7 separate regions of the Homo sapiens genome follow, and regions 1, 2, 3, 4, 6 and 7 are each linked to region 5. Evidence: promoter capture Hi-C in 16 types of primary human blood cells and fetal thymus (Javierre and others, 2016). All regions are on one chromosome and are shown on one strand. The core of a region is centred on a gene start or on the middle of the fragment in contact, and the rest is flanking DNA. Distances in the headings are between cores, read along the strand shown. Region 1 overlaps SNX30 (sorting nexin family member 30). Region 2 overlaps UGCG (UDP-glucose ceramide glucosyltransferase). Region 3 overlaps SNX30 (sorting nexin family member 30). Region 4 overlaps SNX30 (sorting nexin family member 30). Region 5 holds the start of HSDL2 (hydroxysteroid dehydrogenase like 2). Region 6 overlaps SNX30 (sorting nexin family member 30). Region 7 overlaps UGCG (UDP-glucose ceramide glucosyltransferase).

Region 1 (4,119 bases), core at 54-2,553, 450 kb before region 5:
CATTCTGGTCAGCAATGCTATCCCTTGCTTCTTGTAGGCGTTCAGGTCCTGAGGATGATATGTGAATAAGCTCAAAGCACTCACTCACTCACATGGGCAGGACTAAATAAAACAGCTTCTAAAAGCAGCTTCAGTTTGGAAATGGAGAACTCGGGAAACAAGGAGCTGAGTTAGAGGCTCTAATCACATTCACAGGAGGAACCTGGCCTGGACGTCATAACCACCAGACTCAGGCTCCTGTAGGTTGACACTTAAATCCCTTTCAGCAGAGCTGAACGCCAATCCTTAATCAAATTCACTCACCTGAGCACACTGCCCTTTAAACACAATGCTGTTTCTAACATAATTTTTTTTAAGTATCTGTTTCTCCCATACAAAGTACCCTATATTGTCTTTACAAGCAAAACTGAAGAGCAGAGGTTCCGAGATCCATCACTCATTTATTTATACCCCAACTAAAGCCATATAAGGGGAGTAAAGGGTGGAAAGCAGGAAACAGTGGCAGAAAAACATTGCTAGAAAACTCAGGCCTAGGATGGATGCTGTAAACAGCAAAACATTTTAACCCTGGATTTCTTGAAGGCAAAACTGGAAATATGTTGAGTTTCATAACCCATTGTATCTAAATATAAAGCTTATTAGCCAGGCTAGGCATGGTGGCTCATGCCTGTAATCTCAGTACTGTGGGAGGCTGAGGTGGGCAGATCACTTGAGGTCAGGAGTTCAAGACCAGCCTGGTCAACATGGTGAAACCCTGTCTCTACTAAAAATACAAAAAAAAAAAAAAAATTAGTTGGGCATGGTGGCATGCACCTGTAGTCCCAGCTACTCAGGAGGCTGAGGCACGAGAATCATTTGAACCTGGAAGGCAGAGGTTGCAATGAATTGAGATCGTGCCACTTCACTCCAGCCTGGGCAAAAAAGAAAAGCATATTAGCCTGCCTGATAAAACAAGCTTCCTCCTATCATCAAACACTAAGAGGAATCTATACAATCTTCAGGTTGTCCTGTGTCACCTACTGAAAGGGTAGCTTACAAAATGGTTTTACAGAAGGTACAGGTGTCTGTTCCTCATATCCACCCTCAATACAAACAGAATGTTAATCCCCAGACCTAGAAGGGTATAACTAGAGGGAGATAAAGGAACCCAGAACAAGGACACAGCTTTCTGGTGACGTGGCCTGATGCAGAGGATAGAGCAGAGAATGTGGAATGTGCGGCTAACATGGCCCAACAGCCCCTCCGCATTTGATGTACAATTTCAGGCTGAGGTCTCTATAGTATCTGAGTGTAGGCACCTCGTGAATTCACTTCCTTCTTCGCTTCCTTCTTTAGGCCTTCATTTTTGCTCTTGATCCAGCCTTTCCTATTGAGGTAGGTGTGTGTGTGTGTGTGTGTGTGTGTGTGTGTGTGTGTGTTTGTGTGTGTGTGTGTTTAATCCACGGTTCCTGGCTCATAACCTCCACAGACCTTGTTCCAGTCTTTTCACTATAATGTTGGGTGTGTTAAGCCTCAGGAAACAGAATCTCTCTGTCCTTCCCCTGCCCTCCTTTCACCTGCCCCAAGGCAGGACTCGAATCTTCCCCAGCCTTTCTGACTAAGGTCCCTCCCTACACCCTGGAGGATGGAATGCTGCTGTCACGAAGCTTCCACAAAAACCCAAGAGAGCTGGGTTTAGAGAACTTCTGGAGAGCTGAACATGTGGAGTTTCCTGAAGGGTGCTACACCCAGGGAGGGCATGGAAGTTCCACGCCCCTTCCCCCACGCCTCGCCCAATGCAACTCTTCATCTGTATCCTTTGTGATATCATTTATAATAAACTGGTAAATGTGTTTCTCTGAGTTCTGTGAATTGCTCTAGCAAATTAATGGAACCCAAAGAAGAGGTCACGGGAAGCCCAACTTGAAGCTGGCTGGTCAGAAGTTTTGGAGGCTTGAACTTAAGGTCCGAGATCTGGAAGCTCTCAGACTTGAGGACTGAGTCCTCAACCTGTGGGATCTGATGCTATGTCCAGGCAAATAATGTGCAAATTAAACTGGTGGACATCCAGCTGGCAATGGCTGCTTGGTGTTTGGGGAAAATCTCGCCCCCACCCCCACCCCGCAATTTGGTCACAGAAGTCTTCTCCTGTGTTGATGACAACTGTTGTTGCCTGAGAGCAGAGGAAAACCATGGTTTGAGAGTTTTTCTGGAACACCTATCCATACCTTCCCCCAACCGAGGGCCTTGCCCTACCAATTATCCCCTCTCCTGTCTGTATCTTCAACTTCTAATCCTTCAGCATGTAAAATACACCCAAGGCTGACCCATCTTAAAAACAGCAGCAATCTCCTCTAGTTCCTCTCCACCTCTCTCGTTTCCTTCAGAGTCAGGCTGCCTGAGAGAGTGTCCTAAAGATTCCATCTCCCCTTCTGACCTCCCACATTCTAGACAAGAAACATCCTCAAAGGCACAAGGCCTTCACAAGACTATAACTGAAGCCTCAGAGTTCTTGGAATTACCTCTGCAGACAGCGTTTTTACGAGTGGGACTAGAGTCAAATGGGCTCGCTGGACTGCACAGGCTCCGCTTCAAGTAGAGCTTTGAAAGCGTGTCCCCGTTAACCAAGTTAATTTACATGTTGAATAAAGTTATTCAGCAGTATCCATCTGATTGCTGTACCCACTCTGCCAAAGATGAAAATATTGACTTGAATATAGTTGCTATTGAGCGTCCCCATTTCTCCCAGTATTACTACTGGCTGCTGCTGCTGCTTCTTTTTAATATATAGAGATGGGGTCTCACCATGTTGCCCAGACTGAACATGAACTCCTGGGCTCAGGTGGTCTACCTGCTTTGGCCTCCCAAAGCGCTGGGTGTTACAGGCATGAGCCATTACATACAGCCTTTTGGCTTCTTCTTAAGGACATTTCTAATTTGTTGATAAACTCATGTGATCACAAAGAAAAGGAAGAGCGTCTCTGCATTCCCTAAGGCAGAACACGTAAGTGGCTCATCTCAGAACAAGATCAAGTTATTCAAGGTATGTTAAAGGAAAAAATGAGGCAGCTGGAAGAGGGGGAATAGGGTGCTGCCATTTAATGGGCATAGAGTTTCAGATCTGCAAGATGCAAACGTTCTGAAGATGAGCTGCATAACTAATTTAAATATACTTAACACTACTGAACTGTACACTTAGAAATTGTTAGGATAGTAAATGTTAGGTGTATTTTATCACAATTTTAAAAATTTTTAAAGAAAAGATAAGGCCATTTAGCACATTTTGTTCAGCAAGCGATACTGAATTAGGGCTAAAATTTGTTCTGTTTAAAGCCACCTCTCCTGTATTCACTCATATGGAGTCGGATTTTGATTAAGGCAGTAAAGGACCTTATATATATAGATATTTTATATATATTATATTTATTATATATTATATATTAATATATTTATTATATATTAATATATAATATATATTTTTTCTAATTTTTTTTAAATTTTTTATTATTATACTTTAAGTTTTAGGGTACATGTGCACAACGTGCAGATTTGTTACATGTGTATACATGTGCCATGTTGGTGTGCTGCACCCATTAACTCGTCATTTAGCATTAGGTATATCTCCTAATGCTATCCCTCCCCCCTCCCCCAACCCCACAACAGTCCCCGGCGTGTGATGTTCCCCTTCCTGTGTCCATGTGTTCTCATATAAGGACCTTATATTTTTTAAGTCATTTTCATACTGCCTGGCCCACAGATAGATAAATCTCCTCTCTCTCTCTCTCTCACACACACACACACACACACACACACACACACACACTCTCTCTCTCTCTCTCTCTCTCTCTCTCTTTCCTACTTATTCTTCATACAGATTCCTAACAACCAGGGGTCCAAGCTTTTCCCTCCCTTTTCTTTTTTGTTCAGTAAACATGAATGTGCTTAAGGGCTTTCTGGAAAATGGACCTTGGGGGAGAAAGTGAGTTGTGCTTTTGGAGAATAGGATGTATTCTACTTTGAGTATGAGTTGAAGGAATTATACCTGAGGTTTAGTTTGCCAGGAAATACTTAGTTTTAAAAAGTGTACCTGTCCAACCTGTAGGGGGGGAAAGCCTCTGGGAAAAAGAGATGCTGAACTGG
Region 2 (4,372 bases), core at 77-2,576, 480 kb after region 5:
TAATCAGTATATCATGACCAATTTACTACCTGTATCACTTATTTCAAAAATGGTATTGCTTCAAAATGGGCTTCATAAGCAATATAAAGCACACCTTCTTGTGCAAGCTTAACCTTGCTAACACAAATTCTCTCACAGAAGGTAAAATAACCAATAGTGAGTTAGCTCTATAGGAAAACACAAACTCTGCCCACTGGACAATGGGCTTACTACACTATAGAATGTAGAAGATTCCACCACCATAGAAAACAAATAGGAGATGGCTGGGTGCCATAAGGGGCACCTAACCCAATAAGGAACTAAAGTCTAAAATGACTTGAACGAGTAGGAGTTAATTAAGCAAGATTTTTGGAAGGAAAGAAGGAAGAGAAAGAAAAAAGAAAGAAAGTAAAGACAATTCCAAAGAAAGCACATTGTACATTTGGGGAAATGCCAGTAATACAACGTTGCTGGTTCAGCTCCTACAGAGCTGTGCTTGTCTCATTAAGGAGTTTGAACTGTAACCCGGAGGCAATGAGGATTCATGGTAAGATTTTAAGCTACTGTGATCCAAGATTAGTAATCCAGAAGGATAAAGGCTACAATAAGAAATATAAAATCGAGGGGGCACAAGGCTGCAGCTAGAGATACCAGCGAGTAGACATAGCTTCAACATCTAGGATAGATATGAAGGTGTGCTGAACTAACTAATGTCAGAGAGAAAGGCAGGGATAATGAATCAATAGAACCATCACTGAATACTAAAATCTTGCAATTTCCACTTTGCTCTTTTTCTTTTCTTCAACTTTTAAGTTCAGGGGTACATGTGCAGGATGTGCAGGTTTGTTACGTAGGTAAACATGTGCCATGGTGGTTTGCTGCCCAGGTCATCCCATCACCGAGGTATTAAGCCCAGTATCTATTAACTATTCTTCTTGATGCTCTCCCTCCCCACACTGCCCCTCACTTTGTTCTTTAAAGCTATCACACTATAGTCTAATTCCGTATCTTCCCAGGCTCAGGTTAAAGGGGCTGAATTGCTGGACTGCCTTATTCATTTCCCTGAAAGTAGCCCTGTAGCAATGATCCTGACTGATGAACGTTTGACCACAGTCCAAGGGCATTGGCAGGACTAAACCCAAAAAAGACGTTCTCAATTTACATTCCACTAAGGCTTGGAACACCAAGTATTCATGAATTTAAGGCAAAGATCGTACTAACTAAAAATAATATCCCAAATGCTAAAATTTACATGAAAAACATAACCAGTTTTTGACGGGTAGTTTATCGCAGTTATCCTGACACAATGAGTATGCAAATTCCATTCAAAAACTGTGCATCAGGTATTGAAGTTGCTGTACATTAGAGATAGCATATTTGGGTTGGGCGCAGTGGCTCACGCCCGTAATCCCAGAACTTCAGGAGGCCAAGGTGGGGGGATCACTTGAGCCCAGGAGTTTGAGACCAGCCTGGGTGACAAAAATTAGCTGGGCGTGATGGCATGCACCGGTAGTCCCAGCTACTTGGGAGGCTGAGGTGGGAGAATTGCTCGAGCCTGGGATGTGAAGCCGTGATCGAGCCACTGCATTCCAGCCTGGGCAACAGAGAGGACTGTCTCAAAAAAATAACAATAAACAAAATAAAGGAAATACGTTTGTAGAAAGCAGAATTAACTTTAAAAAAAACTTAAAAAATCTCCAGGGGGCCAGGCATGATGGCTCACACCTGTAATCCCAGCACTTTGGGAGCCAAGACAGGTAGATCACTTAAGTCCAGGAGTTCAAGACCAGCCTGGGAAACATGGCAGAACCCTGTCTCTACAAAAAGCACAAAAATTAGCCAGGCATGCCTGTAGTCCCAGCTACTTGGGAGCTACTTAGGAAGCTGAAGCAGGAGAATCATTTCAGCCTGGGATGCGGTGGTTGCAGTCAGCCAAGATCGTGCCATTGCACTCCAGCCTAAGCAACAGAGCAAGACCCTGTATCAAAGAAAGAATACACACACACACACACACACACATATACATATACACCTCCAGGTAAAAAAGGACCTCTGTTTTACTTGAGGGTAGCTAATATTTAAGGACACATAAATTATTTCCACACTAGCCTAGCACCTCCAGTCGAAAGATAAAGCCTGATGATAAACATTAGGACCTTATGTACACAGGGAAATAATAATAATATGAGGTGGATGGGATAGGGAAGAGAGCATGAAGCAAGGTTTCTGCTTAGATCACTTCATCACGCAGCAACGTGGCTCCCAAGGGCTAGAAGAGAAACACTACCATCAGGTCTAGGCTTTTATACAATTTCACCTTAGGCCCCAACCTATCAAGCCACACTAGCACTTACCATTAAAAAAAAAAAAAAAAATTAACCCATAAAGGCTATTTAACTTGCCAAGGCTATACTCTTTAGTTATTTTTAGGAAATCTTCAATCTCAACAATAAGACTCTTGAATTTGAAATGTCTCTAATCTGAATGTTACCTTTGACATTGTTGGCAGAAATCCTACAAACATCTGCCATCTAAAATAGGTTAAGAAAGGGCAATAGAAGCTTTGAAACATACCCAAGTATAAAGCAGAATTTAGTTTATAATAAAAATATTTCAAAACAGTGGAATAATCAAATAATCATCTGATAAGTAATTCTGGACAAGTCTCTAAATATTTAGAAGAAACTATAATTAGGGCTCTAGCTCTCATATAACGAAGTAAAATACTGGGTGAATTCAGGGTAATATGTGAAAAAATTAAGAAAAAAATACTAAGAGGAAGCAGAGACTAACATATATAATAATTTGGAGGAATAAGGAAGATATAAAAATTATAACAGAGTTAGAAAATGTAAAAGAAACGGAAAGACCTATCTACCTAAAACACACATGCACACACACTTTTCTCCATGTCAAATATATGTACAAAGTTAAAAGACAAAAAACAGACTGGGGAAAAGAATGCTACATGTGACAGAAAACAACCTTTATATCAGAAAGATGAATTCAGCAACAGATTGCAGCACAGGCAAAGGATTATGAGTATGTAATTTACATCTAAATGTAACTAGCATATAAACATATTTTAAAAGTGCTCAATGTAACTTTAAAGGAATGAAAATAGAAACAGAAAACAGTGAAATGCCTGCTACTTAGTGTTTGTAAGGCAAAATGGGGCCATCATACAATGTTACCAGGACTGTGAATATACATAACATTTCCATGGGGCCAATATGTATCAAAGTTTAAAATGTGCACCACTTCTGGCCCAATAATTCCTCTTTCGGAAATATAAATGAGATCATTTCTCAAAGATGTATGCATATAAATTCATCACAGTGTTCTTTGTAATCTAGATAAATTGGAAACAACCTAAACATCCATCAGTAATAATAAATAAATCTTGGTACCTGGTAAACTAAAATATCATGCATCTATTACAAATGATGTAGAGATCATACAGATATTGACATGCAAAAAACGGTCAAGACATTTTACAGGACAGTTCCATGTGAACAGGGGCCTTGTATGTTTGTTCTTCACTCTTCCAGCAACTAGAACAGTGCCTTGCACAAAACGGCTTTTCAATAAACATTTATTAAACAGATGAACTTTAAAGCAGGTTACAGAACAATAATCATAATATAGTCCTTTTCTCTCTTCCCTCTTCCCCTCCCTCCTTCTCTCTCTCTCACACACACACACAGATTGGAAGGATAGTCACAAAAGGTTAACAAGGTAATGTAGTTTTGGTGTGTGCATATTTTAATTTTCTCCATCTCTCTCTATTGCATAAATTCCTTACACAGTAAGCATTTTTTATTTTTATGACGGTAAAAAGTAACAATTTTTTTAAAGAAAAAGAACTCACATATTTTAAATGAACTCCAGAATGTGCTGTGACTAAGCTCACCAACTCCAAAAACTAAAGTCAACAATATCCAAGTGGCATGTTTTCTTTCACTTTCAAAGAAATATCAGTATAACCTGTACCAGCATCATCTTTCTCAGTACCAGGAAATGCCACACTATACTAATAAAATACAGTGTTTCCAAAAGCAAAGGCACACTTTTTCCGCAGTAAAAAGGAAAAAAAAAAAACCAAAAAACTAAAAGTAACTAATTTCTTAAAGTCTCTTCCACTAACATACACTCTATTCTAGTTCATGGTAACGATTACTATATACAATTGCTCTTTTCTCCCCCCAGACTAAAAATCCAAGTGAATCGATATCAGTAATGTGCTCTATATAATTTTTTCATTTCTTTACAGAGGCAGATTTCACCTTAAACAGTGGATATACCAAACTAGCCACATAACCCATGTCTCTATTCACGCCATCACCCAGTTCTATTTTACTTACACGCTTCGTCACAATCTCATAACCTTATT
Region 3 (4,349 bases), core at 1,437-3,936, 440 kb before region 5:
AATCCCAGCTACCCAGAAGGCTGGGGCAGGTGATCCACTTGAACCTGGTAGGGGCAGGTGATCCACTTGAACCTGGGAGTCGGAGGTTGCAGTGAGCTGCGATCATGCCATTGCGCACCTGCCTGGGCAAGAGAGTGCGACTCTGTCTCAAAAAAAAAAAAAAAAAAAAGATTTAAATTTCTTTTGCTCTGGTTCTGTTTTTTAAAAACTGTGCAGATGGAAGCGCTGGAGTAGATAAATGTCACGTTGCTTCAATAAACAGTGTTAGGTGGTTTCTTGTTTTTTAAATGAAAAACTGTGGCAATGGATTCTGTGCTAGATTTCTGCCGCTGTGGCTAAAGAAAGCCCAGCCAGCCGCAAAACTGGCTTTCTATATACCAAATCAGAAACTAAAACCTAATAGGTGAAGTATTGTATACAGTGTCCGTTAACATGTTTTATATATGTTTGCTGGGTGAGTCTGTATAACTTAAGGGATGAGAGTTGAGTGAACCCCTTCAGGAAAGACAACACAGGACAAGTGAGAAACAAGCTGTAGTGACTTACTACCTACGGGAATGAGATGAGTGGGCTGGGATTCTTCCAGTTTGCTCCTCAACCAGTCAAAATCCTGGTATCTTCGACGAACAGAATATTCTGGCAGGTCAAACTCCACCCGAGTACTCTGCAAAGAAGAGAATGGAAAAAAATAAGCATAAGGGAATAGCATATCTTGGCTGAAGGGAAGGAAAAAAGCTCTTAGAATAACCAAACTAGGCAAGATCATATTTTCCTTCCACCAAACACAACAGCCAAATGGCAGAGTTTACCAACACAGAATAGACCAGTCTGGGACACTTAGCCCAGTTAAAAATTCAACGAGCTGGAATAAAAATGCCAGTTTTCCGAGATTGCACCACTGCACTCCAGCCTGGGTGACAGAGCGAGACTCCGTCTCAAAAAAAAAAAAAAAAAAAAAAAAAAAAAAGCCAGTTTTTTTTTTTTTCCCTACCGTCAGGAAATAGAATTCAACTATCCCCCAGAATTGTTTAGAAACATTTGATTCATTTCCTCCAAGCTTAACTCTAACAATTTCTTTTAGCAGAAAAAATCCACTTAGGATATTGCTACTAAATCCAAATCTGTGAAAAGAAATTGTCTCCACCTTCTGCTAAATATGCTGACAAGTTTTGCCAAAGAGGAAATAAACAAAAAGTAAAGATAATAGATCACTGCTCATTTCGGGGGCAGATTAGATGAAAATAGAAAAGGTTTTGCTTAATTTGCCACATTCTGCCAAACCACAACCCTGGAACTGTTATATTTTAGACAGATAAGAAAAAATCTAGAAATAATACAAAAATGCCATTGCATTGCAGAAAAATATTAATAATCTCATCCCTTTTTCTCAATTTTTAAAGTTTTCTGAAATGTGATTGCAGCACTTTAATAATGAAAATCAATGTTAAATAAAATTGAGTTGATTTTTACCAAAACAAGATTTTTACTCATTTACTGGCACAAATTACACCGTGTCTCACATAAGCCATTTTTCCCTATGAGGATACACACTATATGACTGTCATGGTTCTCAGAAATTAAAGTACAAGATAAAAATGGGTCAAGCTACATCTCATAAATTTACTCTTTCAAGCCAAAAGTCTGTTTTAATTCACAGCACCAAGAAAATCTTTAAGCACATGAACGAGAGTCATTCATCAAAGAAAAAGCTGTGAACAGCTCTAGCATCAAAAATTATGATTTCATCCTCCCCAAAACCTGTGTTCACTGTCTTAGCAAAATGGTGAAGTTCAAGGACTCATTCTTGGACTGACCCCCAACTAACTGCATTGTTTCCCCTCTTCAAGTCCCACACACCAGCATATGCCTATGAAACACGACCTTCCTCTGTGTTTGCAAGGGTGAAGATGTGGGGAAATTCACTCAATGTAGGTATTTGTGACTTATCAGATGATTTTCCCAAAGGAACTAGCATTGTAGGACTGGAGAGAGAGGAAAAAAGACAACACTTAAATCCAGAGAGCAAGTCATTGTTGACAAATTTTCAAGCACAGCATGACAGAAATATTGGGAACAAGTGGCCTGATACTCCCATCCCCACACCACCCGCACAGGCGGAGTAGGAAGGACTCTGCGCCTATGCAGTTCTTGCATCCCTACCAGATCCCTAACATGTCACTAAGCCTCCTTGAGCCCTAGGTTCAACAGTAAGAAGAGAGTTAGGGCAGGGCGTGGTGGCTCATGCCTGTAATCCCAGCCCTTTAAGAGGCCAAGAAGGAAGGATTAGCTTGAGCCCTAGAGTTTGAGACCAGCCTGGGCAACATAGCGAGACCCCATCTCTGCAAAAAAAAGTTTTAAATTAGCCAGGTGTGGTAGTGCATACTTGCAGTCCCTACTACTCAGAGGCTGAGGCAGGAGGATTGTCTGAGCCCAGGAGGTCGAGACGACTGCAGTGAGCTGACTGTGCCACTGCACTTCAGCCTAGGCGACAGAGTGAGACCTTGTCTCAAAAAAACAAAAGCAGGTTGGAAGGGAAGTTCAAGACCTCCCATCTCCCCCCGATAGGCTCCATGTGAGAACTTGCCAATGATTAAGGGCTAATGAAAGACATATTTTGAAAGGTGACAAATTAAAGCAACTGGTTTTCATTGTAAACCAAACTGATGGAAGGCTCTACTTTTTGCCTTCTTAAATGTTACACGATTATTGGCTGGGCGCAGTGGCTCACACCTGTAATCCCAGCACTTTGGGAGGCCGAGGTGGGCTGATCATTTGGGGTCGGTAGTTCAAGATCAGCCTGGCCAACATGGTGAAACCCTGTCTCTATTAAAAATACAAAAATTAGCCAGTTGTGGTGGTGGGTGCCTGTAATCCCAGCTACTCAGGCAGCTGAGGCATAAGAATTGCTTGAACCCCAGAGGGGGAGGCTGCAGTGAGTCAAGACTGCACCACTGCACTCCAGCCTGGGAAACAGAGCAAGAGACCCTGTCTCAAAAAAAAAAAAAAAAAGTTACACTATTAACTGATCATTTCTCTTATGTTTTTCAGATCCATTTCATAAATTACAGTTTATGTAATATTTCTACTCTAATTTGAAATCATTTTTGGTAACTACAAAAGACAGCACAATAGAACACACGTTTTATTTTTGCCACAACCAATTTCACTTTTGGGGAACAGGCTTTTTTTTTTTCCTTCTATTTATTCGGGTTATATACTTATTTTAAAACTTCAAGAAAAATAAATAGAAAATAAAAGATCAGCCATAATCCCTCTAAATACAGAAAAACACAATTAACATGGTTTATATGTTTCCATATTTTTCTACGCATATTCATTCATTTACTCATTGTCTGTATCTCTTTTAGCACATCTTGGACATCTTTCTGCAGCAGTAAGTTCAGATGTACAGTCATTTTAACACATACATAGTATTCCACTGAATGGTTACACGATAATTAAACCAAATCCCCATTTAAGTTGTTTCCAATTTTTCCATCAATAAACAATACTTTTGTAAACACCATTGAGCACCTCGTAATTCCCTTAAAATAAATTCCTAAAGATAGAATTGCTGGACAAAAGTGTACATATACTTTTTAATTGACAAACTGCTTTCAGAAATATAGCAATTTATATTCTTACCACGTATTCTCAGGAACTAGTTATCTTTGGTGGACTGATAAATGAAAAATAATACATCATCTTTGTTTACAGTTGTTTCTTTAATTACTATTGGGGTTGAACATCCTTTCAAATGTTTATTGGCCAAAAGAAGAAAAGTATTTTTCTTCTTTTATCAGGGGTCTTTTTAAAAATTATAAGTCCAGCCAGGCGCAGTGGCTCATGCCTATAATCTTAGCACTTTGGGAGGCCGAGGCAGGCAGATAGCTTGAGTCCAGGAGTTCAAGACCAGCCTGAGCAACATGGCAAAACCCTGTCTCTACAAAAAATGCAAAAATTAGCCGGGCATGGTGGCATGCACCTGTAGTCCCTGCTACTCAGGACGCTGAGGTGGGAGGATCGCTTGAGCCTGGGAGGCAGAGGTTACAGCTAGCCAAGACTGCACCACTGCACTCCAGTGTGAGCCACAGAGTAAGACCTCAACTCAAAAAATAAATAAAAATAAAAATAAAAATTGAGTCAAGTCTTTTTCATTTGTGTAAGTTCTTTATTACCATTTGCCTATCATAATTTCCAAATGGTTTGTCTGATACAGAATCTTTCCATTGTTTTATTGTTGATTTCATCCATATTTGCCCTTTATGCTACTTTTGGGGTCTTCAGTAAGAAGGCCATCCCCACTGCAAGCTTATAAAAATATTCACCTATAGTCTCTATGATTTTCT
Region 4 (3,980 bases), core at 673-3,172, 410 kb before region 5:
TGAATACACAGACTGCATATTACTTTTCTTAATTTACCCCCCTCGTGCCAGGTACACAGCAGATGCTTAAAGAATGTGTTGGCCACGCGCAGTGGCTCACACCTGTAATCCCAGCACTTTGGGAGGTCGAGGCGGGTGGATCACGAGGTCAGGAGTTCAAGACCAACCTGACCAACATGGTAAAACCCCATCTCTACTAAAAATACAAAAATTAGCCAGGGGTGTTGGCACACGTCTGTAATCCCCGCTACTCAGGAGGCTGAGGCAGGAGAACTGCTTGAACTTGGGAGGCGGCGGGTGCAGTGACCTGAGATCACGCCACTGCACTCCAACCTATGCGACAAGAGCAAGACTCCATCTCAAAAAAAAAGAAAAAAAATGAATGAATGTGTTCTATACAAACTGAATATTCTTGATTGTTGATTTTGTTGTAAAACTAAAGCTAAGCCCACTTTGGAGAATAAACTCAAAGGGATAATCTCAAAAATGTTCTGTTCAAAGATGTTCATGATACAAAGAACACAGAGTGAAACCTAGAAAAATCCCAAAGGCTCAATAACCAGGAAGCGGTCATGTTTGTATGTGTAATGTGACACACTTGTTTAAAAAATTAGAAAGCTAGACCTCTAGATAAACTCAGTGAGTTGAACACAAGCCTCTGCGTTCTCCCTTTTTCCACCCTCCAGATACTAATTTAACCTAGAGAATGAAAGAAAAAAAAAAAAACAAAAAACAGTGGAGGTAAAAAGAACAAGAAAAACAGTGACTGGAGTCATATCAATACTGGAAATGAGGAAAGGGTGCCATCCAAATGCCAAAGGTCTCAAAGGCTGTCTACTGGTTCTACCTGGGCCACAACTGAAAAAAGAACCCAGAGGAATCTAACCCATGTCACCGAAGTTACTTCAGGTTATTGAGGTTACTTAATAAGTAGAAAATGTCCTTGAACCCCCTTTACACGCACGCTAATTTGAAAGTGTGATTGTCAGTGGGGAGTAGAGGACATGGAAGGTTTGGCAGTGGGGCAATCCAGGACCACCAAGGAGTTGGCTGCTGTGACTGTGACCAAGGGGATGCCAAGCACAGGCAAATACACCAAGTGTGGGCCACCAGCAGAGGGCACCCCGCCCACATGGCCTTCTCCCCCCGCATGATGGGTAGAGATGGAAGCAGCAGCTCATAGGAACATGAAGGCATCTGGGTTGGCTGCCCTGGGGTGTGTCCAACAAGCCCAAAGCAGGCCAGACTGCAAATGCTGGGGGGACTGAGCTCTACTGAGATGGGGGGAGCAGCTAAAACACAGAGAAAGCCAGGCTTCTTTCCCATCTGACAGATAACTAGTAATCTATGGATCTAAGACAATGCTAACAACATCAAGTAGAAACACAGAGGATCCAATATAATCCACTTGTTCTGATGGGGGCAAATAGCAGGTCTGAATTATTATCTCATCAGAGGCAAGTAAACCATAAAAACAACTCAAAATGGCATTAGCTCATCACTCAGACCTAAGAAAACCAAAACACAAAAAAAGCAAGAGTCCTCAATAACAGATAAACATGCATTTGAAAAAGATGAAGCCCATAAAACAGAACCCTTTAGGCCAGACTTACTCTGTGTTCCCATTAAAAGAAAAAGAAAAAAAAAAGCCTAAAGAAAGTGGAAAGAGAATCTAAAAATGAAAGCATAAATTAAAACAGAAAAGAACAAAAGTTATAAACAAAAGCAAAATTTAATTCTTCTGAAAGATGAATCAGATAAACTAAAACTTAGGAAATCTGAACAATATAGAAAAAGGAAAATGGCCCAGGTGTAGTGGCCTCAAACCTATAATCCCAGCACTTTGGGAGACCGAGGCAGGTGGATTGCTTGAGCCCAGGAGCTCAAGACCAGCCTGAGCAGCATGGGGAAACCCTGTCTCTAGTAAAAATACAAAAAGTTAGCCAGGCGTGGTGGCTCAAGCCTGTAGTCACAGCTACTCAGGAGGCTGAGGCATGAGAATTGCTTGAACCTAGGAGGCAGAGGTTGCAGTGAGCAGAGATCGCACCATTGTACTCCAGGCTGGGCGACGGAGAGAGATGCTGTCTCAATAAAAAATAAAAAAAGAGGAAAATGGAAAAAGGGAACAGGCAATAACTATTTAGAACTTGTGTCTATGTATGATTGTAAATTAAAAGGTTGTGCTGTGAATAACTATGCCAACAAATTTGGACATCTATATGAGCTAGCTGGCTTTCTAGGAAAAATTATGTGATCAAGGTGAAATTAAATAGAGAGAAAAAACCTAAACAGATAAATAACCACAAAACTGTTGTCAGAGAACATCCACGAAGAGGTAAGCTGGGTCCCAAGTGTTTCACAGTGAGCACTCATGAACCTTCAAAGAGTAAGTCCTACTTTATTCAAATATTCTAAGACATAATTTTAAAATGCAGAAACCTTTCAAATCATTTCATGATGACTATCTATATCCGGTATCAAAATATTAGGACAAAAAAGAAAACTGAGAACAAGCATAAACATCATTAATAAAGTAACAACTAACAGTACACTAAAAGAATTTTTGGAAAAAAAATATATACCAGGATCAAGTCAAATGTATTCCAGGGAAGCAAGAATGATTTAACATTAGGAAATTTATCAATACAATTTATTACATTAATAACATTACTTCATTACACTATATTACATTAATATACATTACTTCAACCACTGTTGAAGATACTCATGTCCAAAACTACCAAAATATTTACTGGCATCACTCATATCAGCCATTCCATTTAAATCTCTAAGTAAAATTAAGAAGTAAAAAGAAAGTTCCCGGCCAGGTGCAGTGGCTCATGCCTGTAATCCCAGTACTTTGAGAGGCCAAGGCGGGTGGATCACGAGGTCAAAGATTGAAACCAGCCTGGCCAACATGGTGAAACCCCATCTCTACTAAAAATACAAAAATTAGCTGGGCGTGGTGGCACACACCTGTAGTCTCAGCTACTTGGGAGACTGAGGCAGGAGAATCGCTTGAACCCAGGAGGCGGAGGTTGCAGTGAGCAGCGCAATTGCGCCACTGCACTCCAGCCTGGCGACAGAGCAAGGCTCCGTCTCAAAAAAAAAAAAAAAAAAAAAAAAAAAAAGTTCCTAAATATGTTTAAAAGTATTTATCAGAAAACATCAGCAATTAATCTTGAAGACATTATTCTAAGTGAACGAAGCTAGATGAGAAAAGCCACATGCTATATAATTCCATTTATATGAAATGTCAGAACAGGCAAATCCTGAGAGACAGAAAGCAGACTTGGTTGCCAGGGGCTACAGGTAGGGGGAACAGGGAGAGCCAGCTTAATAAAGACCAAATTTCTTTTTGGGGTGACAAAATATTCTAAAATTAGATAGCGATGATGGTTGCACAACCCTGTGAATATACACTCAATTATATACCTTAAAATGGTGAATTTCATGCTCTGTAAATTATCTCCAATAACAATAAAACAATAAAAAATGTAGTGGACATATTTTAAAAATGAAGACCTTTTAAATCACAAAGCCATGTCCACTACATTCAGATATAAAGTATTTGCCATAATTCAAAACCATTCTGGAAAGTCTAGTTACCGCAATAATATAGAGAAGAATACTTGAACTCATACAGTGATCTGCCACATGAGTTCATGGCAATAGGTCAGGCTCCTCCCAAATTATCTAAAATTTGTAATATACATAATAGGGAGCAAATGTGTTTAAAGCATTTTTAAATGGTAAACATGAACTGCTATATTTACTAAATGTTCTGGGAAAGAAGTGGAGGACAAAGACTATATGGTAGATTGCATTAGTGTTCATAATTATGAACTTCCCATCCTTTAAAAGGATCATATATTCTTCTTATTGCCAAGTGACTTCCCACAGGAAGACACATCCCCACCACACTGACTTTGGCCTTGGACACGTGACTTGCTCCAGCCACTGGTACATGGTACATGAAT
Region 5 (4,158 bases), core at 503-3,002:
AAGCAAAAAAAGAGTATCCAAAAAACTGGAAACAGTCTAGTATCCAACAATAGGGAACAGGTTAAATAAACAAAGGTATATTCATATACAGGTTGAGCAAACCAAATCTGAAAATCTGAAATCCGAACACGTCTGGAACCAAGCATTTTGGATAATGGATACTCAAGCTGTTACAGAATATTATGCAACCATTAAAAAGGAGGAGGGGCCAGGCGCAGTGGCTTACGCCTGTAATCCCAGCACTTTGGGAGGCCGAGGCAGACGGATCACGAGGTCATGAGATTGAGACCATCCTGGCTAACATGGTGAAACCCCGTCTGTACTAAAAATACAAAAAAATCAACAGGGCGTGGTGGCACGCGCCTGAAGTCCCAGCTACTCGGGAGGCTGAGGCAGGAGAATTGCGGGAGGCGGAGGCTGCAGTGAGCCGAGATCATGCCACTGCACTCCAGACTGGAAGACAGAGCGAGACTCCATCTCAAAAGAAAAAAAAAGGAGGCGGAAGATCTGCCATGTACTAAAAATGTATGTCCCTGGGCACAGCGGTGCATGCCTGTAATCCTAAATACTCCAGAGGCTAAGAAGGGAGGAACATCAGCCTGGGAGTTCAAGGCTACAGGCCAGTCTGGGCAACATGGGAGACCCCGTCTTTAAAAAAAACAAAGAAAGAATGTCCCAAGACATACCAACTAAAAGTAGCAAGACCAAGAATAGAGTCTGCTGCTATTTTTAAGAAAGGGTATGTGTGTGTGTGTGTGTGTGTGTGTGTGTATCCGGATGTATACAAATTATGTTCATACATGCACGAAATAGAAACGTAAGTAACTGGGGAACTAGATTTTAGGGATGGGGAGACTCACTTTTTACCCTATACTCTTTGAACTGTTTTAAGTCTTTGGCTATATGCCTGCATGTTTCAGGCAAATTACAAAATCTGACAACACGTCACTCAACTCAAGATACCCAGACCTTACATAAACCAGAAAGTAGAATGGTGGTTGCCAATGTACGAGCGGAGGTGGGGAAGAGGAGTTGTTTCATGGATAGAGTTTCAGCTTGCAGATGAAAAAAGTTCTGGAGATTGACTGCACAACGATATGAATCTACTTAACACTACTGAAGTGTACACTTAAAAAACGGTTAAGATGGCAGATTTTGTACGTATTTTAACACAATTTTTTAAGGTGAAAAAAAAATCCCCCAAAGATACCCATGTTTTAAGATCGGTTTAGTTTCTAATTTGGAAATCATTTTTTAAACACTCCATTATTACTCTAGAATTGAGCGTCAGGAACAAGTGAAAACTCTTTAAACTCTGGAGCTGCTCCTGCGACCTTTCACCTAGAACTCACACGCATTCGGCCAGGCACGCACTCCTGCTAAACTCAGGGAGGGCCGGCACTGGGGGCGGCGTGGTGACTCCCCCTCGGCCCTTTACCCGTGGAAAAGGTTTCTACACTGCTGCCATCCTGTAATACAAAAGTTTGTGTTCCTTTTCACACGTTACCGCAGATTCTCGGTGCACAGTGCCCAGCGCGGACCAGAGCTCAGAGCGTGCCCAGGCAGTATCCTTGACCTCCCACAGCCGGGCCGGCCAGCCCGGGCGATCCGCGGCGGCCCCACCGAGACGCGCCCTTCGCCCGACAGGGTCTCTCCCCGCGCCGCCCCTACCCCCTTACCCGGTGTTGGGTAACATGACTTTCGTAGATCAGAGGAGGTGGCGGCGACAGCGGCGGCGGCGAGCAGAGAGCTAAAGCTGGACCGTCCCTCCGCATTTATCCCCGCCCCTGCCCCGCCCCTGCCCCCCCCGATGCCTGTGCGGGAACTGCGCGCGGAAAAGCCGGGATCGCCGAGTGCGCCTGCGTATGCAGTGGGCCTCCTGCGCCCAGCGTTCCTCTTCGTCGCCTCCCAAGCCTGGTCCCTGATTGCAGGCTCTCCGCGCAGGCGCTTTGAGGCACAGCTCCGCCCCGCCCCCTCACTGGTCGTACGGTGACAATCAGGCTCCTGTCGGCGCCTAGCGTCTGGGCAGCGTCAGCCGCTACGTCCACCTTTTCCCTGTCTCTAGGGGTTTCTCCTCGCGCCGCTGTGTTCCAGCGCCGGCTCCGAGCTGGGAGGGTGACTGAGCCCTGAGCTTGGGCCCTCCGAGAGGTGCGTTAGCTCTGGGTCTTCTTGCCCCTACGCCCGAGCCTGGCGTTCTCTCGGCCCCCTCTTAGGAACGCTAGCCCTGGGCAGAAATTGCCTTTGTGGCTGAAGTCGGCCAGCGTCGCGTTTCCACTCTCCCGCCGAATCTGGACCCAAGCCAGCCTTCCCTTGTGCATCGGTAGATAGCTTGTGTTAAGGCGCCAGCTTCTTGGAACAGAGCTCTCTGCAAAAGTCGCGCTGAAGAATTCATAGTCAAAAGCTGAACTTGCAGAAGTTTCTACTTCTGGAATGAGTGTTGAAATGAGATCAATTCTGACATTCAGTTTCGCTTTTGGGATTATGCCTTGGACTAACTCAGCTACTCTGATGAGCTAAAGACTGTAGTATATTTGAAGGAAGACACGAGGAACTGTTTTGTATTTTGTAGGGATAGAACAGGACCTTGAGGAGATTATTATATGAAGACTAGTTAAAGAAACTAGCCTGGAGATGGCTTATGTACTCTCTCCTTTGTTTTTGTTTTGTTTTTTGAGACGGAGTCTCGCTGTCGCCCACGCTGAAGTGCAGTGGCGCGGATCTCGGCTCATTGTAACCTCCGCCTCCCGGGTTCAAGTGATTCTCCTCCCTCAGCCTCCGGAGTAGCTGGGACTACAGGCATGCATCACCACGCCTGGCTAATTTTTTTGTGTTTTTAGTAGAGACGGGGTTTCGCCATGTTGGGCTGGCTGGTCTCGAGCTCCTGACCTCAAATGATTGGCCCGCCTCGGCCTTCCAAAGTGCTGGGATTACAGGCGTGAGCCTCCGCGCCCGGCCTCTCTCCCCTTTGTTATGGGCCCTAAATGACTCTATTTCCTCCTGCATATCACCTGCCCGACTCCTGTAGGCATTTGAATTGATGATTCATGATACGGTCTTTAGAGGCTCCAGAGGAATTTGCAAATTATTATCATCCACTAAGTGATTGCTGATTACCTGAGATACAGCAGCTCAAAAAGGACAAGGTCTCTGCCTATGGGAGGTATGAGTAGCCAGTGTGTTCTTTAGACTGTTGTTAAGCATTAGGTGTTTTAAGAAGAGTGTTGATAGAGACTGTTAGATGAAAATAACTTACTCTCCTCTCATCCTTAGGAGCACTTGCTGAAGCGTGTATATATCTGTCGAATAGAGTGAATTCTTAGTAACGGGGTGACATTTCCTTCATATCATCTAAAATGTTCTCTCCTTTTTGAAAGCCACAATATCTTCAGTCTGTTAGAGCCTCCTTTCTTGAATTTGTGTGCTTCTATTTCCATTTGTTACGGAAAGAGAGCTCAACGAAGAGGCAAAGCAAACAAAAAACCTTTGCCAATTTTTCAGTCATAACGATATTTTGTGAGCCTAAATACCTGTACTTACACTATTTTTATACTTTGCGATGGCTTTCACAGAAGGCAAATATATTCCTAAATTATTAGAGGTAGTTTTACCAAGCAAGTTTAAATCCATTGTATTCAGTACTTTGACTAGAGTTCATTTAAAGTGTGATTTGGAGTTACCCATGACCTTCTACCCCATTACCTTGATTAACCTAGTGTTAGATTAATGCTAGAGGTGAGGAATGGGTGAAGGAGAGGACTTGTGAACATAATTAGATCTTCATTTTGGAAGGTGAATAATTTTGGCTTAGAACACTTCTGACTGCAGCATGAAGAATAGTTTGTGAGTAGATAAAGGCACAGAAGCCATTTAAAAGCCCATAGTAATGTAATGTGTAAGAAAAGTAGTAACCTGAACTAAGGCAGTAATAGTAGAAATGAAAAGACATACTCAAGATATGGAACCTGGCAGATGTAACTAATGATTAGATGTAGGAGCAAAGGGGGAAGATGGTATCAGTGGTGACCTTCAGATTTCTGGTGTAAAGTCCTGGGAGGATGGTGATAACACAGTAAAGAAGTGAAAACAAATGGTTTGAAAAATAGATGTCTTGAAAGTCAGGTAAGTCTCACTCATTTCACCCCTTCTCAGCTTGATAAA
Region 6 (4,422 bases), core at 542-3,041, 390 kb before region 5:
TATCATAGTCTCACTATATAATCTTACTATTCTAGAAAGCATTCTTCCTTTTCTTTCATCTTTTACTTTCTGAATATTTAAGGTACACCACACACCTCAAGATGCACCTATTCCTACTATCAGTATCTATCAAAATATATGTAAGTCTTAGCTACTTGGGAAGATTGCTTGAGCCCAGGAGTTCAAAGCTGCAGTGAGCCACAATCACGCCACTGCACTCCAGCTTGAATGACAAAGCGAGATCCTATCTCTTAAAAAAAAAAAGCAAATAATCTTCTTTGTAGCCATATAAAGTATGTTGTTCATATGAGTTATGACTATCAGTTATGAGAAGAGATTTTGGACCCTATTGTACATAACCTTATTAAGCTATCAAAACAACCTTATGAGACAGGTACTATTATTAACCCCATTTTATGGATGGGACAACAGGGTTCAGAGGAGGTAAGTGATTGCCAGCCAGTAAGTGATTATATTAGAACTCCCTTGGCCAACTCTAAAGGCTCTATTCTCTCTACGCAGCTGCAACGGCCTCACACCTACATTGCTCTAACCAACCTCTCTAACAATTCTCAACTTCTTTACACAGTGTGCTTCCTTGCTTTGGAACAAGAGGTGGTAAGTATGCTTTATTCATTTAGCTTCTGGCAACATTGTTTCTCACAATTAACAGATTAACAGATTCTCTTGACCCATTTACTGCAACACCACAAATCTACAGATAGCTGGGAAGTTCCTTGATTCACGAATAAATCAATAGCAAGACTTTTCAAGTAGCCTTTTCATAATTTAAACACAAGGAGAATTTAAAATGGGAAATGTGTTTTTGTTTTAAATCAAGGAGCAAACACGCCAGGATCAACACTTGAAGACATATTCGTTTATGTAGTAACAAAACTGGTTTATGTGAAATGCAAACATTGCTTTCATAACTTACGATCTTGGGATACTGCAATGTATCTTTAATAAACATTACCCTTTCTACTCACACTCAGTACTGGGTACAGCAAAATCTAAGAGAATTTGAATGATTTGAGAAAAGCAAAATACAGTGGCTACCTTGTTCTTCAGAGTCAGACTGGAAGTGAAGATGTGACCATTTTGCTCAAACCATGGCAGGGGAGACACGCCTAGATATCTCCACACGCACACACGAGTACCACAGCCCCACACCTGTCAATCCACAAATCTAAACAATGTCTAGCCTATCATACTATATGAGATACTTTCTAGGTTACTCAAAAAGCTTCAAGAATACCTAAAATAATGTGCCAGGTCTCCCAGCACACCTGGAGAGGAGGATCTGGTTACAGCAGAAGAGTGAAGGCAACTCAACTGCATCCTCTTACAAAGAGGTGTCAGTCTAATCCCCAACAGAGCCACCTCCCAGAAACACTTCTTCCATTTCCACTTGTTGACAAGTTGGTCGTTCCTCTCTCTGGGGAGAAACTGAAATGAAGCTAGAGTAACCCCTCACTAGAATAAGGATTGTTCTAAAGGAAACCAGAACAGAGCTAACGTCACCGGGCTGAAAACACCTCTTCCTCTTTCACGGAGACTGGCAATGTTCTAGGCAAGGAAAGTCCTCTGCCAGGAAGGATGAGGGCAAGGGCATGAAATGGGGTCCAATAAAGTCTGGACAACTGTGAAACAACCGAAGGTTTGCCCCTGCTCCATGACTTGAACCAGGAAAAAAAAGAATGTCTCAAGCCAGAACAAAAAGTTCACAAAATTGACCACAGAGGGAAAGGGTAAAACTCACCACAAGCCAACATTCACCCATATTTGACCTGAACAGATTTGAAAAACTACCAGAAAAGCACTGTCTCTTTTTTCCCTTTGTCACAGTTTAGCCTTATCTCTTTGGGGTTTTGAGCAGTTATGAAAATGTGGCTGTTATCCCTTCTCAAAAACAGTCATAACTGCTCAACAGGACTATGAGTGAGAGCCCTCACTGGCCCCTTTTTTTGAAGCATGATCAGAGTTTGTTTGGTATCAACCATTATTAACCAAATTAGAAAGAGAGAGGGAAGATTCTTTCTCCCTAATTTGGTCAAATAGCCACCCGGGGAGACTATACTCTTGAAGGCTGGGAGAAGGACCCTTCTGACACAGCAATGCTGCATCCTTCCAAGGCTGGCAGACATACTGACATAAATTCTTTCACACACACGCAAGACAGACTATACACGATTTATACATTTTTTCAACTTAACGTTTTTTTCCATTGTTGCATATAAGTATATACAGGGCTGCCTTATTCCTTTTAATACCACATTTCAAAAACTACCATAGTTTACAAAACCAGCACCCTACTAATAGCCATATAAGCTTTTATCTTTTGCTATTAAAAATAATACTGCAACAGGTATCCTTATACACACAGCATTTAGCACGGGTCCATTTATTGAGTCACCAAATATCTGTATACTCCACCCATACCAGGTTTGGTTCATGCATGGAAATTTAGCAATAAGCAAACCAGATCAGGCCCCTTGCCTTCAAGAAGTTTACAGCACAGTACTGGAGAAAGTAAACCAAGTATGTCTGGTGGTTTAAGTTCTGCGAAGCAAGATTAAAGCCAGGTAAAGGGGGAGAATAACTGGGCAGGGAGGGGTCTGCTACTAGTTTGTTTTTTGTTTGTTTGTTTATTTGTTTGTTTTTGACACAGAGTCTCACTCTGTCACCAGGCTGGAGTGCAGTGGCCCGATCTCGGCTCACTGCAACTTCTGCCTCCTGGGTTCAAGAGATTCTCCTGCCTCAGCCTCCTGAGTAGCTGGGACTACAGGCACGCGCCACCACGCCCAGCTAATTTTTGTATTTTTAGTAGAGATGGGGTTTCACCATGTTGGCCAGGATGGTCTCTATCTCTTGACCTCGTGATCCGCCTGCCTCGGCCTCCCAAAGTGCTGGGATTACAGGCGTGAGCCACCGCGCCCGGCCAGGGGCTGCTACTAGTTTATACAGGGAGGTTGGGGGAGGCCTGAATGAAATAGATGAACAAGCCTGCAGGCTGTCTGGGCCAAAAGGCGTGAGGCAAGGGAGTGGGCAGGGGGAGAGAGAAGTGGACGGAGGCCAGAGAAGCAGCAGAGCCAGATTACCCATGTACTTGGAGCCCATGGAGGATTTGAGGGGAATGTGTGAGAACTGAGAAGTCTCTGGATGGTTTCAAGCAAAAGCAAAAAAGAGGCCAGGCGCGGTGGCTCATACCTGTAATCCCAGCACTTTGGGGGGACGAGGTGGGCAGATCACAAGGTCGGGAGTTCGAGACCAGCCTGGCCAACATGGTGAAACCCCATCTCTACTAAAAATACAAAAAATTAGTCGGGTGTGGTGGCAGGTGCCTGTAATCCCAGCTACTCGGGAGGCTGAGGCAGGAGAATTGCTTGCACCCAGGAAACAGAGGTTGCAGTGAGTCGAAACCGCACCACAACACTCCAGCCTGGCCAACAGAGTGAGACTCCATCTCAAAAATTAATTAATTAATTAATTAAATTTAAAAAGCAAGAGACATGATGCGACTGATGTTTCTTATGTTTTAAATAATCCCTCCGGTTGCTGCCTGGATATATGACTGAAGGTGGGAAGGTGGAAGCAGGAAGACGAGTCAGGCGGCTGGTACAGTAATGCAGGCAAGAGGGGATGACAGCAGTCAGGGTAGCAGCAGTGGAGAGAGTGAGAAGTGATGAGATTCTGGACATGGTATTTCAGAAGCACTTGCTGATGGCTTAGGTATGGGATGAAAAAGGGAAGAGCCGAGGCTAATTCCAAGGCTTATCCTTGGAATTAAGAGTGAGCTAGATAACTAGCTTGACATGCCTGTTGGAGATGCAGGGTTAAACATCAAGAAGGCAGTGGGAGACAGGAATTTGGAATTCAGGAGAGAGGTTTCTGGCCTGGAGTTATCAGTGTGTAGATGTGTGAGGCTGGATGAGATTGCTTAGGGACACCATGCAGATGAAGAGAGGCCATATCAGAATGGAGTCCTACAGCAGTCCAACATTTAGAGCTAGGGAGATGAGACGGAACCAGCCAAGGAGACAGAGGAGGAACAGCCAGTAAGGTACATAAGGAACCAACAGTGAGTGGAATCCCAGAAGCCAAGTGAAGATTCAGCTCTTCCTGTCTGTGCCAGGGTGGTGCCTGGTCCATGCCAAGCTACAGAGATGCCTTAGTTGTGCCCTCAGGATGACTGCATGGACATGGCTGCACCCACAGTAGTGGAGACTCCTGGCATCAAGCTCTTGGGGAAGTGGACACTTTCCTGCAGGATGGCACTGCAGTGATGGAGAAGTGATGCCAAGTGCCAGCCCCACAGCCCAGGATGCTATGCGGCCAAGCACTTCTGCAAGTGAAGGGAGGATCAAAAGACAGAAACGACCTCAATGTAGAGGTCTTGAATGATGTTAACTAGAGGTGGAG
Region 7 (4,409 bases), core at 287-2,786, 460 kb after region 5:
TCTGAAGATATTTTTGCTTTTACTACTGAGAAGGGGGTACTACTGGCATCTCATGGTAGAGACCAGGCATGCTGCTAAACATCCTACAAGACAGCTCCCACAACAAAGCCTAAAATGTGAACAGTATTGGGGTTGAGAAGCTTAAGGCAATTAGAATATAAGAAAATATTATAGAACACTGAAACTATTATGAGTGTTCGAAAATGCAAGTTATAATTTCAGTATATGAAAGGCTTCTTGCTAAAATCATTTAAGTAAAAAGTCATGTGTATAGTCCGATAAGTGTATGTGTTTTAGTAAAATATGCACCTATTAATTTCTGTCCCTTTGTGAGACGGTGTATTACGCAAGCCGAAACACATTAAAGATAAGTGTCAGGCAAACAAGGGAAAAGTTACACCCATGGGAAAGCTTGCAGATTATATAATGAACCACAACCATTTTTAATTTAATGGTTGAAATTTTCTCTTCAAAATGAAAACATTTTAATACATGTAACATTCTAGTTTAGGATTAAAAAAATCAAAATCTTAGTAAGCATAACTGGACATATTACCATGAAATGATGATGAAATAAATTACTCTTTTAGGCAAATAAAAAGAACTCATGAATGTATCTGAGATTGCTTTTAGCATTTTATCTTCAAATTAATAGTTTTATAAAATAAATAAGAAAAAAACCTCACCTCTTATTCCACTATCACAAATCCATATAAGATCATACTTTGCAACTTCATATCCTGGCATTAAATTATTAATTTTAGGATTAATGCCAACTTTTTTGCCACCTAAAAATGTAAAGGTACAGTAGTAAAAGATTTATGCAACATTAAAAATATTTTATAGTATAAAGATACATGATAGAAATGAGAATACTTGCATATTTAATAATTAAACATACTTTCATATTATTTAACATTCTCTATTATTCATAATAATATATTTAGGAAAAAACTGTCCATTCTCAAAAGGAAAACTGTATCATTTATCTTTGAAAATTCACTGTTTCACTTTTTCTAATTCTTAAGTCCTTGCCTTAGTAGTTAAGTATGAGTCAATATTTAATGGCAATTGTACAACATGGCAACTATAGGTAACAACAATGTATGGTATACTTGAAAATGACTAAGAGTAGATTTCTCACCACAAATAAAGTATAAGTACATGAGAAAGTATATAACAACATGTTGTTTACTTGAAAACTGCTAAGAGAGATTTCCCACCATGAATAAATATGTGTGGTAATGCATATGTTAATTAACTTAATTTAGCTATTCCACAATGTGTACATATATATATATTTCAAAACATCGTGCTGTACACCAAAAATATATACAAATTTTATTTGTCAATTTAAAAAATAATCCTAAGGGAAAAAGCTACAGGCGTTATTTTGAAGCTATAATTAAAACAGTATAAATTCATAAATACAGTAAGATTATATTTAATAAAGGTTTATTAAATGTAAACACACATGGCCAGGCACCATGGGCTCACGCCTGTAATCCCAGCACTTTGGGAGGTCGAGGGGGGTGGATCACCTGAGGTCAGGACTTCGAGACCAGTATGACATGGCGAAACCCCATCTCTATTAAAAATACAAAAAAATTAGCTGAGCGTGGTGGTGCCTGACTGTAATCCCAGCTACTGGGGAGGCTATAATCCCAGCACTTTGGGAGGCCGAGGCAGGTGGATCACCTGAGGTCAGCAGTTCGAGACCAGCCTGACGTGGTGAAACCCTGTCTCTGCTAAAAATACAAAAAAATTAGCTGGGCGTGGTGATGCACGCCTGTGATCCCAGCTGCTCAGGAGGCTGAAGCAGGAGAATTGCTTGAACCCAGGTGGAAGGGGTTGCACTGAGCTGAAATTGTGCCATTGCACTCCAGCCCGGGTGATAAGAGCAAAAAATTCGTATCAAAGAAAAAAAAAACCAAAAAAACCCCATAAATATATGACAGTAAATAATTTAAGATAGCACATGTGAAGAATGAGCATCTCTGACCATGAGCTGATAGATTTGTAATGGTCCTGATTAATTCGTAGGCATGCTACACTTATATTAATTTTCAAATTTGCATTTTAAGCTAATAAAAAATTTAAATCATTGCCCGATCTTCAAATAGCAAAGATCTGATATCATTTTATACGACTTACTGGTTTTTTAGAGAGACCACATCAGCTCTATGTTAAAAAAAAAAAAACACTAATGGCAAACACACCTCTACAAGTCTTTCAAATAAGCCTGTAGGCTTTTGGAAAAATACCCTTCTTGTAATGTAATAAAAGTGAATTCTATCATTCACTCCAATTATAGTCAGTAAGATACAGAAAAGGCCACACATTTAAAATATTGAAGAAACAAAAAATAACAGACCCTCATGTCTGATTAATGGGAAAAATATTATTTTGTGTGTGATTTTGTTCATCTCAGATATGAAAAAAAAAAACCTTTGTTTTTATAACTTTTCTCAAAAGGACGTAAACACCTCTCAGTACTCCAACAAACATGTTTAAAACAAACATGGCTAACACCTTAATCTTCAGTTCAATGCAGAGATTACTGATACTTAATACTATCAATGGAAAATGGTTACTACAGAATTTGTTACTTACCTATAAACAATCTAGCATCAACATTTGGATATTTTCCAAGAAGCTTCTTACATACATCAATGGCTGGATCATCATGATCTTGTACACAAAGGAGCACTTCATACTAGTCAAAAAGCATTGTATGTAAATTAAATTCTTTAAAAAAATAAGCACTTACTAGCATGTATTGATTGAACAAAAAGCACAGGAAAAAACAAGCAACTGTATTATGCAAAGTTTTAAAAGAGAGCATTCACAATGGATGCAAACACTTATGATAACAAGTGTTGCTTTAATGGAGTGAAGCTTCTAATTAGGAGCCTATCTGCAAGCAGAATAAATAAGGAAGAGACTGGCAGTGCCCACAACTGCAGTCTTGCCATTCCCAGATAGGAATCTCCTAGTTAATCTCCATTAACTGGATCTCAAGCTTGTCCATGGCCATCACTACTGAAGATTTACTAACTGCTCACAGGGTGCCTAGCAGAGTAAAAAGTGACATCAAAAGGAAGCAAAATAAACACAACCTCTCTCTAGAAGCTTTGTCTCTATACTTAATATTATTTCATGAAGGTGCAACAAATTTCATATAAAATCCCATTATAATAAATTTAAAGGGCCCTTCCAAATTCATCACATGAAAAGGACAAAGTAAGATTACCCTTTTTTGTTTCATAACTTTTTGAAACAAAACAGAATTTGATTTGAATGGACATTTACGATCTTGAAATGCATGCTTAGCCTTGTAACTATGAAAATACCTACAACTTTATTTTGCCCAGTGCTATGTTTAGATTTTTAACAGTAAATTAAGAAAGGCATTTCTTAACACTTGCCCAGCTGTGACAAAATTACCCTGGGGCTGGGCACGGTGGCTCATGCCTGTAATCCCAGCACTTTGGGAGGTCAAGGTGGGAAGACTGCTAGAGCCTAGGTGCTCGAGAGGAGCCTGGGCAAAAAGGCGAGGCCCTGTCTCTACAAAAAATTTTTAAAATTAGCTGGGCATGGTGAGGCATGCCTGTGGTCCCAGCTACTTGGGAGGCTGAGGTGGGAGGATTGCTTGAGCCCAGGAGGTTGAGGCTGCAGTGAGCCGAAGACTGCGCCACTACATTTCAGCCTGGGAAACAGAGTGAGACCCTGCCTCAAAAAAAAAAAAAAAAAAAAAAAAAATCACCCTGGGGCATTTATTTTAAAAAGAGAATTGGACCCTATTTTAGACTTTTGAGTCAGAATCTCTGGGGTGATCTGACATGCAGCCAGATTTATAAAATCCTGAACTGAACCCCTAAATTTCCATTAACAACCCAACTTTTTTTTTTTTTTTGAGACAGAGTCTCACTGTCACCCAGGTTGGAGTGCAGTGGCATGATCTCAGCTCACTGCAACCTCCGCCTCCCAGGTTCAATCGATTCGCCTGCCTCAGCCTCCCAAACAGGAGTAGCTGGGACTACAGATGCCCGCCACCATGTCTGGCTAATTTTTGTATTTTTAGTAGAGACGGAGTTTCATTGGCCGGGCTGGTCTCAAACTCGTGACCTTGGGATCTGCTTGCCTCTGCCTCCCAAAGTGCTGGGATTACAGGCGTGAGCCACCATGCTCAGTCAACAACTAAATTTTTTAAGTATTTGTCCTTAACATACAAAAATACTACTCTATTATTTGTAGGATATGTATTCTAAGTAGTGATTTTTTTCCCCAGAAGTGGTAATAAATTCATGTTGACTCAATGAAGAAATTTCCTACCAAATCTTTTCTAAAACTGGTTGAACAGCCAGGCACGGTGGCTCATGCCTGTAATCCCAGCACCTCAGGAAGCC

What was found. The method cuts DNA at HindIII sites, captures the fragments that hold promoters and counts their contacts. A CHiCAGO score of 5 or more calls a contact.
Region 1: a fragment that was not itself captured here is called in contact with the fragment with the promoter of HSDL2 in region 5 in 2 of 17 cell types (naive B cells and total B cells); the score reaches 5.7 in naive B cells.
Region 2: a fragment that was not itself captured here is called in contact with the fragment with the promoter of HSDL2 in region 5 in 6 of 17 cell types (neutrophils, erythroblasts, megakaryocytes and 3 more); the score reaches 7.3 in neutrophils.
Region 3: a contact is called between a fragment that was not itself captured here and the fragment with the promoter of HSDL2 in region 5, in 3 of 17 cell types (naive B cells, total B cells and megakaryocytes). The highest score is 8.0, in naive B cells.
Region 4: a contact is called between a fragment that was not itself captured here and the fragment with the promoter of HSDL2 in region 5, in 5 of 17 cell types (total B cells, naive B cells, fetal thymus and 2 more). The highest score is 8.9, in total B cells.
Region 6: a fragment that was not itself captured here is called in contact with the fragment with the promoter of HSDL2 in region 5 in 1 of 17 cell types (megakaryocytes); the score reaches 5.2 in megakaryocytes.
Region 7: a fragment that was not itself captured here is called in contact with the fragment with the promoter of HSDL2 in region 5 in 1 of 17 cell types (fetal thymus); the score reaches 5.2 in fetal thymus.

The regions. Positions count from the first base shown.
Region 1 is chr9:112,832,143-112,836,261 of GRCh38, reverse strand. SNX30 (sorting nexin family member 30) reads right to left here. Exons shown (of 9, transcript NM_001012994.2): 5 at 1-48. Among named protein-coding and RNA genes, the nearest start is that of SLC46A2, 57 kb to the left of the region's middle. RefSeq lists a silencer at 2,867-3,067. The HindIII fragment of the contact is 691 bases long and covers 958-1,648 here.
Region 2 is chr9:111,898,103-111,902,474 of GRCh38, reverse strand. All of the region lies in intron 1 of UGCG (UDP-glucose ceramide glucosyltransferase), which reads right to left. Among named protein-coding and RNA genes, the nearest start is that of UGCG, 3.5 kb to the right of the region's middle. The HindIII fragment of the contact is 2,433 bases long and covers 110-2,542 here.
Region 3 is chr9:112,814,020-112,818,368 of GRCh38, reverse strand. SNX30 (sorting nexin family member 30) reads right to left here. Exons shown (of 9, transcript NM_001012994.2): 3 at 554-664. Among named protein-coding and RNA genes, the nearest start is that of SNX30, 65 kb to the right of the region's middle. RefSeq lists a silencer at 372-421. The HindIII fragment of the contact is 3,254 bases long and covers 1,060-4,313 here.
Region 4 is chr9:112,790,551-112,794,530 of GRCh38, reverse strand. The region is part of intron 1 of SNX30 (sorting nexin family member 30); the gene reads right to left. Among named protein-coding and RNA genes, the nearest start is that of SNX30, 42 kb to the right of the region's middle. The HindIII fragment of the contact is 5,421 bases long and covers 1-3,980 here.
Region 5 is chr9:112,377,702-112,381,859 of GRCh38, reverse strand. HSDL2 (hydroxysteroid dehydrogenase like 2) reads right to left here and starts at 1,752. Exons shown (of 11, transcript NM_032303.5): 1 at 1,680-1,752. The coding sequence starts at 1,696. It also overlaps a transcript of PTBP3 not described here. RefSeq lists a silencer at 1,549-1,798 and enhancers at 2,019-2,138, 1,570-2,169, 2,169-2,418, 2,519-2,568. The HindIII fragment of the contact is 10,070 bases long and covers 1-4,158 here.
Region 6 is chr9:112,769,237-112,773,658 of GRCh38, reverse strand. The region is part of intron 1 of SNX30 (sorting nexin family member 30); the gene reads right to left. Among named protein-coding and RNA genes, the nearest start is that of SNX30, 21 kb to the right of the region's middle. The HindIII fragment of the contact is 1,085 bases long and covers 1,249-2,333 here.
Region 7 is chr9:111,921,156-111,925,564 of GRCh38, reverse strand. It overlaps UGCG (UDP-glucose ceramide glucosyltransferase), which reads right to left. Exons shown (of 9, transcript NM_003358.3): 3 at 2,614-2,716; 4 at 687-788. Among named protein-coding and RNA genes, the nearest start is that of MIR4668, 8.7 kb to the left of the region's middle. The HindIII fragment of the contact is 2,245 bases long and covers 414-2,658 here.